Linked DNA regions of Homo sapiens: region 1 is linked to region 2. The links are contacts of gene promoters, found by promoter capture Hi-C in blood cells and fetal thymus (Javierre and others, 2016). All regions are on one chromosome and are shown on one strand. Each heading gives the region's core, a stretch centred on a gene start or on the middle of the fragment in contact. The rest is flanking DNA. Distances are from core to core; before and after follow the strand shown.

Evidence for each region. The method cuts DNA at HindIII sites, captures the fragments that hold promoters and counts their contacts. A CHiCAGO score of 5 or more calls a contact.
Region 1: a contact is called between a fragment that was not itself captured here and the fragment with the promoter of CDHR2 in region 2, in 8 of 17 cell types (naive CD4 T cells, total CD8 T cells, non-activated CD4 T cells and 5 more). The highest score is 7.4, in naive CD4 T cells.

What each region holds. Positions count from the first base shown.
Region 1 is chr5:176,419,569-176,425,499 of GRCh38, reverse strand. No RefSeq gene overlaps it. Among named protein-coding and RNA genes, the nearest start is that of CLTB, 6.0 kb to the right of the region's middle. The HindIII fragment of the contact is 242 bases long and covers 4,201-4,442 here.
Region 2 is chr5:176,546,700-176,552,582 of GRCh38, reverse strand. It overlaps CDHR2 (cadherin related family member 2), which reads right to left and starts at 3,241. Exons shown (of 32, transcript NM_017675.6): 1 at 3,169-3,241. It also overlaps the pseudogene RN7SL684P. RefSeq lists enhancers at 1-387, 2,036-2,969. The HindIII fragment of the contact is 9,099 bases long and covers 3,092-5,883 here.

The DNA.
Region 1 (5,931 bases), core at 3,072-5,571, 130 kb after region 2:
ACTCTGTCTCAAAAAAAAAAAAAAAAGAATCTGTTTTCATTTATTGCAGGACACAATTGGAGAAACTGGTTACTGACTAGAATGGTATGCTTTCCTTCAAGGAAACAAACTTGACTTATGGAGCCAATAAAAGCACCTTGGGAAAACTGGCCTCTTACCTTGTCTACACAGTCCCTGTACAGGGTTCCTGACCTGTGGTAAGTAAGGAATGTTACTTTCTGACAGGCCCAGCAGCCACAAGTTTATCTTGGAACTTCAAGAAGAGAGGAATTCACCCAACTCATAGGTATTTGATAGTATAAATCCATGGCTGGGCTTGGTTTTAAAAAAGTCTTATCTGAGATTCCTTCTATGGAACAAAGTCCCATCACAGCCAATTTAAAAGCCTATGTAAAAAAAATTATTCTTGTTGCACTGTATACAAATAATCAGGCCAAGTATAATAAAGCAAATCAGTCCTACCATGACTTGTCTATAGTAAAAATGGGAAACCGGAGACAGAAAAATTATGTTTCACAAACTATAGTACACCTATTTTTAGATTCTAATCTTGCCTAATGTTTTTCAATTTTTATTATTTTTTACAGTTTGGACCGAATTCTAATTTTTCTTGGCTACAAGTCTTCAAAATAATGTTTTTAATTTTTTTCCTCCTTTTTTTTTGAGACAGAGTCTCACTCTGTCACCCAGACTGGAGTACGGCAGTGCGATCTCGGCTCACTGCAATCTCTGTCTCCCGGGTTCAAGCAATTGTCCTGCCTCAGCCTCCCAAGGAGCTGGGATTACAGGTTCCTGCCACCATGCTCAGCTAATATTTAGTATTTTTATTAGAGACAGGGTTTCACCACGTTGGCCAGGCTGGTCTTGAACTCCTGACCTCAGGTGATCCACCCGCCTCGGCCTCCCAAAGTGCTGGGATTACAGGTGTGAGTCACCGTGCCTGGCCCTGTTTTTAGACATTGGCAATGGGCAGCACAGGGCTGTGATCCCTGAGAGAAGAGAAACAAACAGGGTGAACCCTGTGATTTTCCAGGTGTAGGAAAACAGCCTGTTGCCTGGCAAGAGTAACACTATCTTAAAGGGAAACCACCATAATGACCCATGTTTGACTAGTGCATATACTGAGGCAGTCCTGCAGCAAAGTCAGGAAACAATGCCTGTAATGGAGATAACCCCTTGCAAAGAAACAGTGCCTGTACCAGAGACAACCTCTCATAAGGATGTTTATCTAGGCTGGCTTGCAGTGGCTTAATCCCAGCACTTTGGGAGACTGAGGTGGGAGGATCGCTTGAGCCCAGGAATTTGCGATCAGCCTGGGCAACACAGTGAGACCCTGTCTCTTAAAAAAAAAAAAAAAAAGAGCTTATTTAACTTCCCCAGTGGTCAGGAGTTTCACAAGAGGTCTGAGGCTAAAATCTTGCTATAAAAAGGATAATTTCTGGATGGCAGTTGCAGAGATCCACTGCCGTGTGGCTGTCTAAGACAAGGCTTTTGTTTGTAAGTCTCTATTAAATGTTTCTTTCTGATAAACTGGATTTGTCAACCTCTTTCTTCGGCCTCTCAGCTCCCTTGGCCTTTGGAGGTAGGTTAGCTTAGATCTGCTCACAGCAGAACACCACGCTTTCTGCCTGAAGGAATTTCTTTTTTCTTTTCTTTTTTTTTTTTTTGAGATGGAGTTTCGCTCTTGTTGCCCAGGCTGGAGTGCAATGGTGTGATCTCAGCTCACTACAACCTCTGCCTCCTGGGTTCAAGCGATTCTCCTGCCTCAGCCTCCCGACTAGCTGGGATTACAGGCATGCGCCACCACACCTGGCTAATTTTGTATTTTTAGTAGAGACGGGGTTTCTCCATGTTGGTCAGGCTGGTCTCGAACTCCCGACCTCAAGTGATCCGCCCACCTCGGCCTCCCAAAGTGCTGCGATTACAGGCGTGAGCCACTGTACCCAGCCCGCCTGAAGGAATTTCTAAGCTGCTAGGAAGGTAAGGGGAACCCAAACAGAGTCCAGCAGTCTCACAGAGGCAAGAGACAGAGATAGGAGTTTGGGGAAGTTGAAGTGGCTAGGATTTGCAGGGTAAAGTACTGAGAAGAGGGAGCTAGGCAGGGCAAGAATTCCAGAAATGTGCATAGGAATTAGCTTTAAATCATCAGCCAAATAATAATCTGTGCATCCATAGAATAAAACTCCACTAGTCTGGGCAAAAATAATTTATGAGGATAGAAAGTTGGTTCTTCATCTGGGCATGGTGGCTCACACCTGTAATCCTAGCACTTTGGGAGGCTGAGGTGGGCAGATCACTTGAGGTCAGGAGTTCAAGATTAGCTTGGCCAACATGGTGAAACTCCATCTCTATAAATAAGAATAATAATAAAAAATTAAAAAAAAGAAAGTTGGTTCTTTGAAAAGATCAACAAAATTGACAAACCTTTAGCTAGATGAACTAACTAAGAAAAAAGAAGATTCAAATCACTAAAAGTAGATACAAGAATGGGGACATTGCTACTGATTCCATCGGAATAATAAGGATTATAAAAGACTACTGTGGCCGGGCGCGGTGGCTCACGCCTATAATCCCAACACTTTAGGAGGCTGAGGCAGGAGGATCACCTGAGGTTGGGAGTGTGAGACCAGCCTGACCAACATGGAGCAACCCTGTCCCTACTAAAAATACAAAATTAGCCAGGTGTGGTGGCACACACCTGTAATCCCAGCTACTCAGAAGGCTGAGGCAGGAGGGAGAATCGCTTGAACCTGGGAGGTGGAGGTTGCGGTGAGCCGAGATCACACCATTACAATTGCTAGAAACACAAAAACCTATCAAGACTAAACCATAAAGAAATAGAAAATCTGAGTAAACCTATAACTAGTGAGATTGGATCGGTAATCAAAAATCTCCTGACAAAGAAAAGCCCAGGATCTAATGGCTTCACTGGTGAATTCCATTAAACATTTAAAGAAGAACCAACTCTTCTCAAACTTCTCACAGAAATTGAAGAGAACACTTCCTAACTCTTTCTATGATGCCAGCATTATGCTGATACCAAAGCCAGATAAAGACACTACAAGTCCCAGTAATAGCATGAAAAAAAGAAGACACTAGTAGAAAAGAAAACTATGGATCATTATCTCTTGTGAACATTGATGCAAAAATCCTCAGCAAAATACTCAGTAACCGAATTCAACAGCACAATAAAAGGATTGTGTACCTTGACCAATGGGGTTTACACCCAGAATGCAAGGGTGGTTCACCATACAAGAATCAATCAATGTAATGTACTGCATTAACTGAATTAATTTAAAAAACACGGCTGGGCACGGTGGCTCACGCCTGTAATTCCAGCACTTTTGGAGGCCGAGGTGGGCGGATCACGAGGTCAGGAGATCGAGACCATCCTGGCTAACACAGTGAAACCCCGTCTCTACTAAAAATACAAAAAAATTAGCCAGGCGTGGTGGCGGGCGCCTGTAGTCCCAGCTACTCAGGAGGCTGAGGCAGGAGAATGGCGTGAACCCAGGAGGCGGAGCTTGCAGTGAGCCGAGATCGTGCTACTGCACTCCAGCCTGGGTGACAGAGCGAGACCCCGTCTCAAAAAAAAAAAAAAAACCATGCGATCATCTCAATAGAGCAGAAAAAACATTTGGCAAAATTCAACACCCTTTCATGATAAAAACAGTCAATAAAGTAGGAACAGAAGGTAGTTATATAATGTAACAAAAGCCATATATGAAAAATCTGGCCAGGTATGGTGGCTCACACCTATAATGCCAACACTTTTTGGGAGGCAGAGGCAGGAGGATCACTTAAGCCCAGTAGTTTGAGACCAGCTTGAGCAACATAGTGAGACCCAGCTCTATAAAAAAGAAAAGAAAAGAAATCCACAGCAAACATCATACTCCATGGTGGAAGACTGAAAGCTCATCCACTAGGATCAGGAGCAAGTAGAGAGTCAACCTAAAATAACGACAGGGAGAGTGGCTCTAAGAAAAAGTGAGATTACTTGGGAATGAATGACAAATTGTATATTAGTCCATTTTCATGCTACTGACAAAGACATTCCTGAGACTGGGCAATTTACAAAAGAAAGAGGTTTAATGGACTTACAGTTCCAAGTGGCTGGGGAAGTACACAATCATAGTGGAAGGCAAGGAGGAGCAACTAATGTCTTACATGGATGGCAGCAGGCAAAATGAGAGAAAAGCTTGTGCAGGGGAACTCCTCTTTATAAAACCATCAGATCTTGTAAGACTTATTCACTGTCACAAGAACTGCACAGGAAAGACTTGCCTCCATGATTCATTTACCTCCCACCGGGTCCCTCCTACAACATATGGGAATTCAAGATAAGATTTGGGAGGGGACACAGCCAAACCATATCAGATTGTGTGAAAGGAAAATAAAATCTCAGGACCTCAAACTCACTACTCAAAAGGAAAAGTTAAGCTTGGAAACTAAGCCACACAAAAAAACTGCCTTTCCTTTTGTTCCTAAACAGATAGGTATAAGATAGAAGGCCACATGTCTCCCCAGGTGGCCTCCCTCACCCTGACAATGTAAATTAACAGCTTATCTTCACAGGTGCGGGACAAAAGGAGACTAGAAATCATCCCCCCCACGCCCCTGTCAGACAAATGCATATTTGAACTCTTCCTCTACTCTCTGTTTATCTTATGTACAGATTTACTGAGTGCAAGATGAATATGTAATTGACTATTCCTCTACCCTGTCCTTTTCACATGGAACGTATGGATTCAGTGAGCTCTAATCAAAGCCTCAAAAGAATGCAATGGCTTATCTCACTTGTCTACCTTCCTTTTTTTCCCCTTTCTTCTTTCTCCTCCTGCCCACTTTTTCCCCTTTAAATAATGAAGTCCTCAAAATCTTCTTTGGAAAAAAGTGCATGCCACAGATCATACTGTGTCTTGTGTCTCTTCTTCTTGGGTGTGCCTGCAACCTTGGCAAAATAAACCTCTAAATTGATTGAGACCTGTCTGTGATACTTTCTTGTTTACAGTTGCATCCCAGGGAATACATGTACTATGGTGAACCATGGAGGGGGGCACTCAGAGAGAAAAAGGAAGGAAAGGGGTTTTAAAGGCAAAATGAGGAAGGCTACGTAAGTTGTTTTGAAAAAATTATCCTTGGCTACAAGGATTGATAACAAGGGTAGCATTATTCCAAGATTGAACAGGCAATTGCTGGGCAGGTGTCATTGCAGAAATATTCTTCGTGCATGGGTGTGACGGCCTTTGTGCAAGATTGTGGTTTCAGACAATCCTTGTTTTTTGTTGTTGTTGTTGTTGGGTTTTTTTTTTTTTCTTGAGACGGAGTTTTGCTCTTGTTGCCCAGGCTGGAGTACAATGGGGCAATCTCGGCTCACTGCAACCTCTGCCTCCCAGGTTCAAGCAATTCTTCTGCCTTAGCCTCCTGAGTAGCTGGGATTACAGGTGTGTGCCACCACACCCAGCTAATTTTGTATTTTTAGTAGAGACGGGGTTTCATCATGTTAGGTTGGTCTTGAACTCCAGACCTCAGGTGATCCGCCCATCTCAGCATCCCAAAGTGTTGGGATTACAGGCATGAGCCACCGTGCCCAGCCTCAGACAGTCCTTGTAATATTTTCTATCATAGGCATGTGTGCATGGGAGCCCCTCATTTATGGCCTCCTGAGTCCATTTTGCTAGGGTTTGGCATAAGTGACTCCAGTTTGATTTGGACAACTTGTGCAGAAGGATGCCCACTTTTGGTATTTCTATTCAACATAGTACTGGAAGTCCTAGCCAGAGAAATTAGGCAAGAAAAAGAAATAAAAGCAACCCAGATTGGAAAGTAAGAAGTATCTCTGTTTGCAGATGCTATTTATTTATTTAGAGACAGGGTCTCACTCTCATTGCCCAGGCTGGAGCGCAGTGGTGTGATTGTTATAGGACAGGG
Region 2 (5,883 bases), core at 1,992-4,491:
ATGCTAAGCCTTCCCCATGATAGGTCACTCCCAAGCTCAAATCTCCTCCATGGCTCCCACTGGCTGCAGGACACACTGCCTGCCCCTCAGCCTGACAGGCGAGGTCCTTGGAGGTCCTGGGTCTTGCTTTTTCCACACGAGCTGCTCTCTCCCACTCCTGAGGTCCAGTGGTGTTGAATGCTCCTGTTCTCGGTCCACACCCTGCATTGTCCTTCCTCCATTTGCCTAAACCATTCCCTCTGCCCAGAATGTCTTTCTTTGCCTTCTGCCTACATGCAAATCCTCTCCATTCTGTAAGGCCCAGATCAGCTGTGGAGCTGTGTTCAGGCAGTTGGTGGCCCCCACTCTGGGCTCCTCATTTCCTGGTACCCCAGCAAGGGGCAGGAGCAAGGCACAAATGGAAACCGAGTGAATGGAGTTGCCCCTGGGCTGGGACTTGCGGACAGGCACCCGCTTTTCCCTGCTGGGGCAGCCTCAGGCCAACGCATGGGTGTGAAACAAGGTCCCAGTCACTGCACAACCGTACCCCTGGGCTCTTTTCTCTGTTTGCTCCTTTTAAAAATGGGAACTATTAACCGGGCGCGGTGACTCACGCCTGTAATCCCAGCACTTTGGCGGGCCGATTACGGGGTCGGGGTCAGGAGATCGAGACCATCCTGGCTAACATGGTGAAACGCCGTCTCTACTAAAAGTTCCCCAAAAAAAAAAAAAATATTAGCCAGGCGTGGTGGCGGGCGCCTGTAGTCCCAGCTACTTGGAAGGCTGAGGCAGGAGAATGGCGTGAACCCGGGAAGCGGAGCTTGCAGTGAGCCGAGATGCCGCTACTGCACTCCAGCTTGGGTGACAGAGCGAGACTCTGTCTCAAAAAAAAAAAAAAAAAAGAGAACTCTTGGCTAGGTGTGGTGGCAGTCCAGGCCAATACCAATAGTTCTCATTTTTTAAAGGAGCAAACACAGTCCAGCACTTTGGGAGGCTAGAGTGGGAGGATCACTTGAGCCCAGAAGGTTGAGGCTGCAGTGAGCCGAGATCGCGCCACTGCACGCCAGCCTGGGCGACAGAGCAAGACCTTGTCTCAAAAAATAAAAATAAAATAAAGTAATTTAAAATGGGGACTATCTATATTCCAGAAATTACTGCTTCCTTGTTCTCAAGCCCTCCGGCCACTACTGTTGTTTCCCTGCTCTCAAAAAATGCCTGGACCAGCCTGACCAACATGGTGAAACCCTGTCTCTACTAAAAATACAAAAATTAGCCAGGCATGGTGGCGCACACCTGTAATCCCAGCTATTCGGGAGGCTGAGGCAGGAGAATCACTTGAACCAAGGAGGCAGAGGTTGTGGTGAACTGAGATCGCACCACTGCACTGGAGCCTGGGCGACAAGCAAGACTCCATCTCACAAAAAAAAATTAGCCAGACGTGGTGGCGTGCACCTGTAATCCTAGCTAGTCAGGAGGCTGAGGCAGGAGAATCGTTTGAACCAGGGAGGCACAGGTTGCAGTGAGCCGAGATAGCGCCTTGCACTCCAGCCTGGGCAACAGAGTGAGAATCCGTCTCAAAAAGAAAGTGCTTAGGGAAGGACCAAAAAGGACACAGAGAAGAATCAGGGAGACTCTGGCCCCCACGCCATGAGATGTGTAGTCTCCAGGAATCCTCACTGGTCCCACCTGGCCCAGGAGGTGCCAGCTCTTCAGCCTTGGCTGAGAGGAGGCTTCAGCCGCATCTCAGAGCAGTCCACGGTGCCAAGATTTTCTAGAATTTGGAACCACTGGGAGTGAGGATACCCGGACTGCCCAGGACCTCCAGGAGGGTCAGGGTGGGGAGGTGGGTCCTCCTTCAGTGTGGGGAGCCCCCGGGGTGCACTCAGCCACGATGCTACAGAGCTCCCCCAGCACCGCCACCGCTACACGGCCAGCTCGCCATGCACTTTCACTTCTGCTTTTTCATTTACTTCTCACAGCTGTTCCCAAGCAGGAATTATCCTATCCTATTATTCCAAGGAAACCGAGGCTCATAGATGCCCAGAGATGGGTGAGCCAGGGGCAGCAGGTTAGACCCAGGCTGCCTCCAAATCCAGGGGTCCCTGGGCAAGCCTTGGTCTGGGCTCCGTTGATCCAGGAGGCCGTGCCTGCACCCACAGAGCGGACTCCAGCCGAGCCTGGGTGCCCGGAGCAAGGATGTGGGACCTGAGCACGCAGCTCCCCGCCACGGGCCCTCCCAGTGCCTATGGCCCAGGCCACCTGGCCCAGCAGACACATACAGACTCAAACAGCCCTGGGTTCAGATGGCAGCATTTCACATATTTGTTGTGCAACCCCAGGCAAGCCCTCTCCCCTCTCCAGGCCTCAGTTTCCCCTGCTGAGAAGCAGAGTGAGGATAAAAATCAAGGGGTCTACACACGGGCCATGACTTGTTTCCATCTGCCGGACCTCGGTGCTCACTGGGACCCTGCCTTGTGCCTGGTGCCCAACCCAGCACAGGCCTGCCTGAGTGACGCAGCATGGCCCCGACTCTCAGCTGGGTCACCACCTCCTCTACCAGGGCAGAGAGATGTGCAAGGCCCGGACTGGGCAGAGCTGGGGCCAGCCTGGGTCAGTCCCTGCCTGACACTTCCTAGCACTGGCTGAGGTGGCACTGGGCTCGGTCATAGGCCACATGCTCACCTTTGCCTCAGGGCTTTTCAGGCCCTTTCTGGAACTCTTCTCATCCCCATTTGATAAATGAGGAAACGGAGGCCCAGAAGAGTTAAGTAGCCCACCAAGGTCAGGGTGGAGCTGGGATGTGAACCGAGCAGCTGGGGTAAGAGCCCAGGTCAGCTTCCCCGTCCTCAACCCCTGAGCATCCTATGAAGGGGTCAGGCCAGTTACCTCGTTTCCCTGGGGTGCCTGCCTCCCTTCCATCCTCTGAAGAATCATCCCTTGAGGACTTGGATGGGAAGGGGGCCATCAGCCCCCAGGGAAGGAGGTATTATTATCCCATGTTTACCAAAGAAACAGGCCTCACAGCAGGCTGGGACCTGACCCGGCTCTGCCCCATCTAGCGTGTGACTTCCCCTGCCCAGCTTCAGGGGAGACTTTTAAAGACCCCCAAGCTTGCCTTGGCTCTAGGGATCCCCCCAACCCCCACATTTCTCTGGCCCAGAGACCCCCGATGAGCTGGATAGTCCCTACCTGTGTCCCCTTCGCCACGGAGGCGGCAGGCAGGCGCCGGACAGGCGCTGGCACACAGGTGGGCACCCTCTGCGGCCTGCAGCTATGTGGCCAGCAGACTTTGGCACCATCTCCACCTCCACTGAGCAATCATTAACCCTGCCAGAGACCACACCTCCCAGGAGGGGTCGACTCCTAATGAGGCAGAGTACAGCTGGGGGCGCCGGACAGGAGGAAGGGACCAAGGCGCCAGAGCTCCTGGCGCTCCTGGGGCTGGAGGCCCACACCACAGGAGAAGGGGCCTGGCCGACCCTGAGCCCAGAGGACCTGGGAACAAGGCCCAACACTGGGGCAGGCTGGAGGCGGGGACGGTGACAGTCAGAAGGTGATGCCAGAGCCCCCGTCCCCTCCCTGCTACGAGTCTTCAGTGACAGGGGATCTGTGGACAAGTGGGGGATTGAGTCAGGAGAGGGAAGTGGTAAAACAGTGTAACAATCAAACACTGTGTGGCCAGACCAGCCCCTGTGAGGTTCTCGTGGAGGACTGGGGGCTAGCTGAGCCTGGACAACCCACTTTCGAGCCTGTTGACACTGATCTCACCCCGCATTGAGACCCTCAAAAGGCATCTGCCCGTCCCCAGGGGCTTCATCCACTCCCAAGTTGCCTTTTTTTTTTAATTATTTATTTATTTTTGAGTCAGAGTCTTGCTCTGTCACCCAGGCTGGAGTGAAGTGGCACAATCTTGGCTCACTGCAATCTCTGCTTCCTGGGTTCAAGCAATTCTCCTACCTCAGCCTCTCGAGTAACTGGGATTACAGGCGTGGGCCTCCACACCCGGCTAATTTTTTTTGTATTTTTAGTAGAAACAGGGTTTCACCATGTTGGCCAGGCTGGTCTCGAACTCCTAACCTCAGGCGATCCGCCTGCCTCGGCCTTCCAAAATGCTGGGATTACAGGGATGAGCCACGGAGCTCGGCCCCCAGGCTGGCTTTAAGCGCTGCCCGATGTGGTGGCCTCCCGAAGGGGCTCAGCCACAAGTCCTTCTTATCCTCACTTTGGCCCAGCCATCACAGTTGACACAGAAAGGGGACCCTGGGCACAACTTTCTTAAGGCACACCACTGAGTCGTCACCATTGGGTGGCCCTCTTCTTGTGGGCAGAGGACATGTCTAATTCACAATAGATATATAGTCATGCACCATATATCTGTGTTTTGGTCAACAACGAACCACACATATAATAGCGGTCCCATAAGAGTATAATATCATCTTTCATGGCACCCTTTCTGTGTTTACATGCACAAATACTTACCCCTGTGTTACAGTTGCCTGCAGCGTGCGGTACAGTCCCAGGCTGCATAGGTTAGCAGCCCAGGAGCACAGGCGGTGGTATAGAGACTGGGTGTGTAGTAGGTGGTACCGCCTAGGTTTGTGTAAGTCACTGTGTGATGTTCACACAATGACGAAATTGCCTGATGACACATTTCCCAGAAGGTGTCCCCGTTGTTAAGGGTTGTGTTGACTGTATATCAGGCAGTTGCTATAGTCAGGCATTTTAATAGTTTGCTTCCCAACTCTCCAAATGTAAAACATAGTAACAAAATTTATACGCCACCAGCATAAAAAGAAGAAACCCAGATGAAGGGAAGTCAAGTGAGAAAAATAAGGGTAATCTACGCCTGAATTGAGGCCATAAAATACTTGTCTTGAGCTGGGGGCACTGCTGTGCACCTGTAGTCCCAGCTACTTGGGAGGCTGCAGCAGTAGGATGGCTTGAGGCCAGGATTTCTGTGCTGTAGGGCACTATGCTGATGGGGTGTCCACACTAAATTCAGCACTAATATGGTGAACCCCAAGGAGCAGAGGACCACTAGGTTGCCTCAGAAAGGCTGAACCAGCCCAGGTCAGAAACAGAGCAGGTCAAACTTCAGGTGCTGATCAGTAGTGAGACTGTGCCTATGAATAGCTACTGCACTCCAGCCTAGACAACAAGAGCTTCTCTCTCAAAAAATAAACAAATTATATATATATATATATTTGCCTTCAAGTTCTGGGTAATTGTAGAGATGGGTCATGAATCAGGTTCTGAGCTTCCCCCCAGGCAAAGAAAAAAGGGAATTGAGATCCATTGAGTCCAGCATCCATCCATTTTAAAACATTTGCATAGGCTGGTGGCTCGCGCCTGTAATCCCAGCACTTTGGGAGGCTGAGGCGGGTGGATCACCAGGTCAAGAATTCGAGACCAGCCTGGCCAAAATGGTAAAACCCTGTCTCTGCTAAAAATACAAAAAATAGCTGTGCACGGTGGCAGGTGCCTGTAATCTCAGCTACTCAGGAGGCTGAGGCAGGAGATTCACTTGAACCCGGGAGGCAGAGGTTGCAGTGAGCCAAGATTGTCCCACTGCACTCTAGCCTGGGTGACAGAGCAAGACTCCATCTCAAAAAAAAAAAAAAAGACCAAAAAGACCACTTTGCGTATAGCCAGGCTCTGGGAGCTATGATGCAGTTCTGAGTTTTGATACCCAAGAGGCTTTTCCTCTTTTTGAGAAGTGTTTCTGAGGAAAGGATGCTGCAGACACTGGGTAGCGCTCGATGCGACTATTACAATGCAGGGGTTAAGAGACCAGAGACCAGGCTCCTCTGGGGTCAGACTGCTGGGTTCAATTTTTTTTTTTTTTTTTTTTTTTTTTTGAGCACCATGTTGGCCAGGCTGGTTTCAAACTCCTGACCTCAGGTG